Linked DNA regions of Homo sapiens: region 1 is linked to region 2. The links are contacts of gene promoters, found by promoter capture Hi-C in blood cells and fetal thymus (Javierre and others, 2016). All regions are on one chromosome and are shown on one strand. Each heading gives the region's core, a stretch centred on a gene start or on the middle of the fragment in contact. The rest is flanking DNA. Distances are from core to core; before and after follow the strand shown.

Evidence for each region. The method cuts DNA at HindIII sites, captures the fragments that hold promoters and counts their contacts. A CHiCAGO score of 5 or more calls a contact.
Region 1: a contact is called between a fragment that was not itself captured here and the fragment with the promoter of GINS4 in region 2, in 1 of 17 cell types (neutrophils). The highest score is 6.1, in neutrophils.

The regions. Positions count from the first base shown.
Region 1 is chr8:39,990,345-39,994,266 of GRCh38, reverse strand. The region is part of intron 8 of IDO2 (indoleamine 2,3-dioxygenase 2); the gene reads right to left. Among named protein-coding and RNA genes, the nearest start is that of IDO2, 58 kb to the right of the region's middle. RefSeq lists a silencer at 3,243-3,537. The HindIII fragment of the contact is 3,832 bases long and covers 1-3,171 here.
Region 2 is chr8:41,527,249-41,530,900 of GRCh38, reverse strand. It overlaps GINS4 (GINS complex subunit 4), which reads right to left and starts at 1,640. Exons shown (of 8, transcript NM_032336.3): 1 at 1,505-1,640; 2 at 603-717. The coding sequence starts at 698. RefSeq lists a silencer at 1,665-2,094. The HindIII fragment of the contact is 13,395 bases long and covers 1-3,652 here.

The DNA.
Region 1 (3,922 bases), core at 6-2,505, 1.5 Mb after region 2:
AAAAGAAAGAAAGAAAAAGAAACAATCTTCATTATAGAAAATTCAAATTGAAAAGAAGGAGGGAAGAAATTAAGCAAAATCAACTATCATCCTCTGTGTTGAAATAATCAACGTAAATATTTTAATAAATACCATTTGTCCTTTTATTTTGCTAAATATGTATATTTTTATTAAAATGCACTCATATTATGCAAGTTATGTAGCCTGCTTTTTTCACTTAACAATATATTGTGAACATCTTTTATTTATTTATTTTTTTGGGGACAGAGTCTCACTCTGTCGCCCAGGCTGGAGTGCAGTGGCAGGATCTAGGCTCACTGCAACTTCCATCTCCCAGGTTCAAGTGATTCTCCTGCCTCAGCCTCCTGAGTAGCTGGGATTGCAGGCATGTGCCACCATGCCCAGCTAATTTTTGTGTTTTTACTAGAGATGGGGTTTCACCACGTTGGCTACCCTGCCCTCGGACTGACCTCATGTGATCCACCCGCCTCTTCCTCTCAGTGTGCTGGGATTACAGGCTTCAGCCACCAGGTCTGGCCTGTGAACATCTTTTCTAGGTCAAAAAGAAAAATAAAGAGATGTTTGTATGATTTTATTATCATATAGAATTTATTAAAGAAGAATCTCAGTGTTAATTACTTTCCAATTGAGTTTAGACAAAATAAGTTCACAGGCTGAGATGGAAAATTCCTTCCATGAAATCAAGTGAACTAATGAGAAAGGAACAGTAGCAGAAGTTCACACTACAGCTTAGCCCCAATTTACTCAAAAAGAAACCTGATTTAAATGCATACACTAAATGGTTAGGAAGAAACCCTTCGACTCCTCATTACTGCTAAAAGAAAAAATTCTTAACGCTGCCAATGCGCCGATGGGTCAAGCAAAAGCTGGAAATTCTGTTAATTTGGAAGTAAATAAAGGCAAACATTTCCATGGCTTTTTGGGGAGAAAAATATCCTTCACCTTTTCCAAGAAGAACATTACTTCCTAGAGAACAGGGGCGATCAGTAAGCATGCCAAAAAAAGAAGAAAAAAAAAAACACATGTCTTAATAATCTCAACACTTGAAAGTCTGAAAATAGTTTAACCTTCCAATGAGTCAGAAAGCTCAGATCTGGCTGAGTCGCTGGAAAGCAGCTCCAAAGAAGGACTGGATGCAGACACGCACGGTTGACAGGCGGCAGGCAGTGGCAGACTGACATAGATATGGTTATGTTTCCAGTACCGTGTGGACTTCTGCCTTATGGGGGCAGATTATGAAAATAGACCGGGCTGGTTCTGTCTTCCACTCAGAAGTGAGCGCTTTACAAAACTGAGAAAAGCTGGGCAAAGGACTAGTGACTCAGGTACCAGGAGGGTGGCTCTCCAAAACGCCACTGCAGTCTGCAACAGGCATTTTCTACTCAGCCCTGAGTGTGAAGGGCTCTACGTGCCTGGAAAGGAAGTATTTATGGATGAAGGGATTAGAGCTCATGACTCTTGCTAAAGCTGGGCTCTGAAAGAAGCAATTGTTTGGTACGCTCCATTTTGGGGAATGGAAGCAGAGGGAAAAAGTCCAGCCAAGCTCTATTTATCACGCAGAAGAAAGTTTATCATTACAAACCAGAGACAATGACTGGAGCATTCAGGTGATTCCTTAAATCTTGCAGTTTCTAGTGTTTGTTACTATTTTTATAACTTTATTTCTTGTGGTTACTATTGCTGCATAGAAACCACTCCAAACATAGAGGTGTGAAAAAACCACTATATTCTGTTGATGGGGAATCTGGGCAGAACAAGATGGCAATGGCTTGACTCTGCTCCACAGTGGCTGGTGCCTCAGTTGGGAAGACTTCAAGACAGGACATAAGTTGGGATGGGAGCCTAGAACCATCTGAGGGCACCTTCACTCCTGGGCAGAAGCCAACTGGAGAACCCACATGGCTCTTTGATGTGGTTTGCCTGTGTCGTTTGCACAGCAGAGTGATCTCAGGGTAGGTGGACTTTTTACCTAGTGGCTCAGGACACAAGGTTAAACCTGCATCACCTCTTCTAGTCTTGCCTCAGAAGTCTGTGCTATCCCCTATACTACATTCTATTGGCAACACGTACATCACAAGTAGGGGCACAGAGTCCACCCCTGGTCGAAAGGAATGCCCAGGCCACGCTGTGGAGGAGCGCGCAGGATGGCATGGGGCCATCTTTAGAAAACACAGTCCAATCCATTCAGCTATTTGTCCATATAGATGAATGTGACTAGGAGTAAAACACTGAAACGAAATTATGTCTGTGTGGGAAAATGTGCCTTTTGAGAAAACAAGGGCGGTAGCCCTGGGACCTCCTTAGACGATGAGACCTCCTGCAGAAGCTGAGCAGGAGAACACAGCAGGTTGGCCTGGGCCTAAAAAGTGAGTCTGAGCTGGGCGCAGTGGCTCACGGCTGTAATCCCAGCACTTTGGGAGGCCAAGGTAGGCAGATCACCTGAGGTCAGGAGTTCGAGACCAGCCTGGCCAACATGGCGAAACCCCATCTCTACTAAAAATACAAAAATTAGCTGGGCATGGTGGTGCATGCCTATAATCCCAGCTACTAGGGAGACTGAGGCAAGAGAATCGCTTGAACCCGGGAGGCAGAGCTTGCAGTGAGCCAAGATCGTGCCACTGCACTCCAGCCTGAGTGACAGAGTGAGACTCCATCTCACAAAAAAAAAAAAAAAAAAAAAGAAGTGAGTCTGAAAGTGAGCCCTAGGAAAGCCTGTGACAGTTAGACACTGCATGCACCATCTTACTGCTATGTACACTGGGACCTGTTGGAAGGTTTCTCATAATCTTCCAAAATTGCTTCCTTTTGCTCATCCATGTGATCTGAAGACACCTGCACTATCTCCCTAATAGCCTTGCTATCCTAAGTGATGGACTCAGGCTTTCTTGGCAAAGCTAAAACACATCTCATCTCATTTCAGCTTGGCAAAGCCACCATACAACTTAAGGGAGCTGTTTGGCAGAAGACCTACTGATGTGATCATGAGGGCTTTAAAATTAAAATTCAAGGAAATAGAGAAAATACAAATATAAACTATAAAACCAGGAAGTGGATAATACCTAATCCTGTGACTTCAGATAGATTTCTACTAGTGCTGAGAGGCTGGGATGACAAATTATATTTACTTTTTTAATACAAGATAATAAAGCTTGGCAGTACCTAGCGTCTTTCTCCCTCCCTCCAGTCCTGCTTCTTGTAAACACTCTCTTTTCCCAGAATCTTTCTTTCCTGCAGGGAAGCAAGATTCAGGGAAAATGATACTTAGACTCTGATATTCTCTTGTTAAGAAACCACACCCCTCTCTCACATCCTCCTAAACACATACATTCTTCAGATTCCTCTGAGAGAAGAATTTGAAGAGCCTCCCAGATGTTGGAAACTGAATGCAGTAACCAGAATAAGATGTAACCGGTCCAGGAAGGTTGGGCCCCGTAACTGACCATGCCTGTGTTAAGCAGATTAACAGGGAGAGGCTCCCTAATGGAAACTGATATTTATTCTGGAATAGGGCATTGCAATGGGAATACATGTGCCATAATAAACCATGTGGGTATTCAGAAAGATAAAGGAAGACAAAGGTTTTTAAAGGAAAAATGAGGACAATTATGTAACTGTTTTGAGATCATTAACCTTGGCTATGAGCATCAATAAAAAGGGTGGCACAAGGCCAATGTTGGAAAGGCAGTTGCTGGGCAGATGTCGTTGTGTAAGTATTTTTTTGTGTATGTAAGGTTGTGATGGCCTTTGTGCAAGGTGGTGATTTTTTCAGTCCTTTGGAAAAGATTTTGTTATCAGGCATTTATACACGGGAGCTCTCTCTTTGTAGCCTTCCCCAGCTCTATTTGTCAAGGTTTAAAAATTTTTATTCAACACAAGTGACTCCATTTTGATTCTGACAACT
Region 2 (3,652 bases), core at 391-2,890:
ATTTAAATCCAGATAGTCTGAACTCCTGTTACCAGAGCATCATGAGATATAAGTGTAAAGAACACAGTTACTGGCACATGGGAAATATGCAGTAAGTCATAGCTATTACAACTTAAAGGAGAAATATTTCAGAAAGGATTTTAGATAAGCAGTGGACATATGGAGAGCAGACGACTCAAGAAAAAACATGTGAGAAAAAGGAAAAATATGACCAGTTTTCCCTTACAGGCATTTCAGCATTTTCTTGCTAAACAGGCATTCTCCAGGGAAACAGCAGATGTTCAAGGGACTAAGGTAAAGAAGTTCAGGGACCTCTACAGTCCCTGAAAATATCACGTGGATCCTTGCTCTGTGAACTGTTCACTGAATGTGCCCAAAGCTGTCCCTTACTGACCCCACTTGGGGATGCTGTGTTTGATATGATGAGGTCTCTAACAGAGGATGTCCTTCTTGCTTCCCGTTTCCATGTAGATGGTAAGATCCAGTCCCTGTTCTAAAGTAAGCCCCAAATTCCGTTTCCTCATCTTGTGATCCCTGATATTCACAGTTGAACTAAATAAAAAGGCTGACTGGAGCAAAGGGATTCGATCTGGGATGCTTACCTGCTCCAATCTTTCAATGAGCTCTGCAGGAGTTAGGACCACTTCCTCACTACCCCCATCAGAGTCCTGTCCCAGGAAATCCACTTCTTCGGTCATCTTCTCTGAAACCAGGAACCTAATGAGAGGGAAAGAACCAATACTCTGCAATGCGTTTTCTAATTATCTGCAAGAACAGACATCTATCTGGAGAAAGGAAAGGTTTATTGAGGTTTCCTGGGGTTGTAGAGGCCCTTTAGCAAGTGGTGAGAGAACGCAGGGACTCTAGTTTTCCAGTGTCTGCCTCTTCCTCCAAGGCTTAGGTCAGGTATCCGTTTCTCAAACAAGCCTCCCCCTTACTTCTGTCCACCAAGAGCTGAGCACCCATCACACCATACAATCACTATTCATTTCTTTGACTTCCCAGTAGAGGTCTTGTTCCTCAGGGACGGGGTTCGTTTTAGTTCAAATACGAATCGCGCCTCTGCTCAGTGCCTGGCACTAAGCACTGGGGACGCAATGACGTGGGAAGCCCCTGCGCTCAGCACAGCGCTTGACTCCTAGCAAGCACTTAACATTATTAGGAGCTGGCCGGGCTCACGCCTGTAATCCCAGCACTTTGGGAAGCCGAGGCAGGAAGATACCTTGAGCCCAGGAGTTCGAGACCAGCCTGGGCAACATAGGGAGATCCTGTCTCTATAAAAACAAAAATTGTTAGGAAGATTAATCAATGCTAATTTCCCAGAGCCACAAGGGCCGGCGACATTAGACCAGTCGGCGATCCCAAAGGCCTAAGGAGGTGGATGGCGGGGACAAAGAAAGTCCCTGGGGTCGCAAGGAAACTGCGAACATCCCCCTCCCCTCCTCCCTCTCAGTGCCACCCACACAGGCCTGCCCTAGCCACAGAGGTCCCATTCGACGCTCACTCGGGGACCTGGGAGACAGCGAGGCACTCCACAGCAGCCGGCGGTAAGGACGGGGCGTTCGTGGGGACGCAGTCGGGGCACCAGGAAGCGGGAAGACAGAGGAACAAACTGCTCAAGGACTTGCCGGGACCAACTCAACCCTGCAACTTCTCAGCTCCCGCGCTACTCTCGCAAAGTTTCCGCCCAGGCACGACGTCATCGCGCAAGGGCGACGCTGACCAATCAAGGCCCGGGGGGAAGAGCGGGGCGGTCTCCTTGGGCCCGCCCACCCGGCGGGCGGGGACTGTCTTCGCGGCGGCCTGCAGTCCCAGCAACCCAAGGACTTGAGGCGGCGGGAGGCTGGTCCGGGTTGGCCCCGCCCACCTGGGGGCCGGCCGCTCCGCTGTGCGGTCCGGGTTGCACTACCCAAGAGCGTCGGGAGGGGGCGCCCGCCACCGCGGCCAAGGGGAGCGGCGGTGTCCGCCCCGGGGGGTCCCACCCAGAAGTATGCTGTTGAAAGCAGGCCGCTGCAGCCTCCTGGGCCGTCTCCACCCACAGCTCTCGTGGCTCTTTGGGTTCCTCCGTCTTTGCGGGGTTTCACCTGTGGTCAGTGTGGTCATTGCCTTCAGAATCTCCAGTATATTCCTTTTCATCTTTCTTGAGACAGGGTCTCGTTCTGGTGCCCAGGCTGGAGTGCAGTGGCACCACCACAGCTCACTGCAACCTCCGCCTCCCGGGCTCCAGCGATCCTCCCACCTCAGCCTCCGGAGTAGCTGGGACCACAGGCCAGCGCCACCACGCCCAGTTATTTTTTAATTAAAAAAAAAAAAAAAAAGAACTGTGGCGGGGTTGGGGGTGGGGAGGTTCTCCCTATGATGGCCAGGCTGGTCTCGAACTCAAGGATCCAAGCAATCCTCCCACCTCGGCCTCACAAAGTGGGTACTGGTTCTTGAAGCCTGGGATCGGACGACCAGCAGAAGCATCGCCTGGGAATCCGTGAAAATGCAGGTTCTCAGGCCCCACCCTGGCCCACCGAATCAGAAACTGGGGGTATTTCACCAGACCCAGGCCCTCCCGGTGACCCTGACACAGCTGAGGTTTGAGAATCACTGCTTTGGGGCCGGGCGCGGTGGCTCACGCCTGTAATCCCAGCACTTTGGGAGGCCGAGGTGGGCGGATCACGAGGTCAGGAGATCGAGACCATCCTGGCTAACATGGTGAAACCCCGTCTCTACTAAAAATACAAAAAAATTAGCCGGGCGTGGTGGCGGGCGCCTGTAGTCCCAGCTACTCGGGAGGCTGAGGCGGGAGAATGGCGTGAACCCGGGAGGCGGAGCCTGCAGTGAGCCAAGATGGCGTCACTGCACTCCAGCCTGGGAGACAGAGCCAGACTCCATCTCAAAAAAAAGAAAAAAAAAGAAAAAAGAAAAGAGAATCACTGCTTTGGGGCAATGCTTTCAACTCACCTTCTGGAGGGGAAAAGCACAAAAACCCATGTCTGTATATGTATATATTTTTTCCATCTTTGTGTGATCCAGTTTTTCTTCTCTGAGTTGCTGATTCTTTTCTCTTTGCTGTCCTTTGTTTTCTGTGCAAAGCGTTGCTTCTGGCTTCCCTAAAAGTATCTCTTCTCCATCAATCTGAGGGCTCTTTGCAAAGCTGCCCTATGATGTCATATTGATTGACTAGTAAAATGATTGGCTAATATAGTATGATCGTACCTGCCTGATTACAATCCTGTTATGAAAATGACAATAGAATAAGCCGAGTGAGAGAGTAGGCATCTTTACAAAGCGCTGTGTAAGCTGGGGCATATCAGCACGGGATTCCCAAAAGGAAGGGACATTTGAGCTGTGTCTTATGAAATGAATTTTGTGAGTGGCAAATAGGTGGTTATTTCAAGGTCTGTTTCAACGGTTTGGTAATCCAGTGGTTTTTGGTTGTGGCAGAGTGTGTTTCCCAAACATAGCTGCTCTAATATGGATCTCACCCCACATACCCTTCTTACCATGTGACATTGACACTCCTCCATCAAGAGGTGGGGTCTATGTTCTCACCTTCTATTTATTTATTTAGAGACAGGGCCTCACTCTGTCGCGCAGCCTGGAGTGCAGTGGGGCGGTCACGGCTCATTGCACCCTTGACCTTCCTGGGCTCAGGTGATCCTCC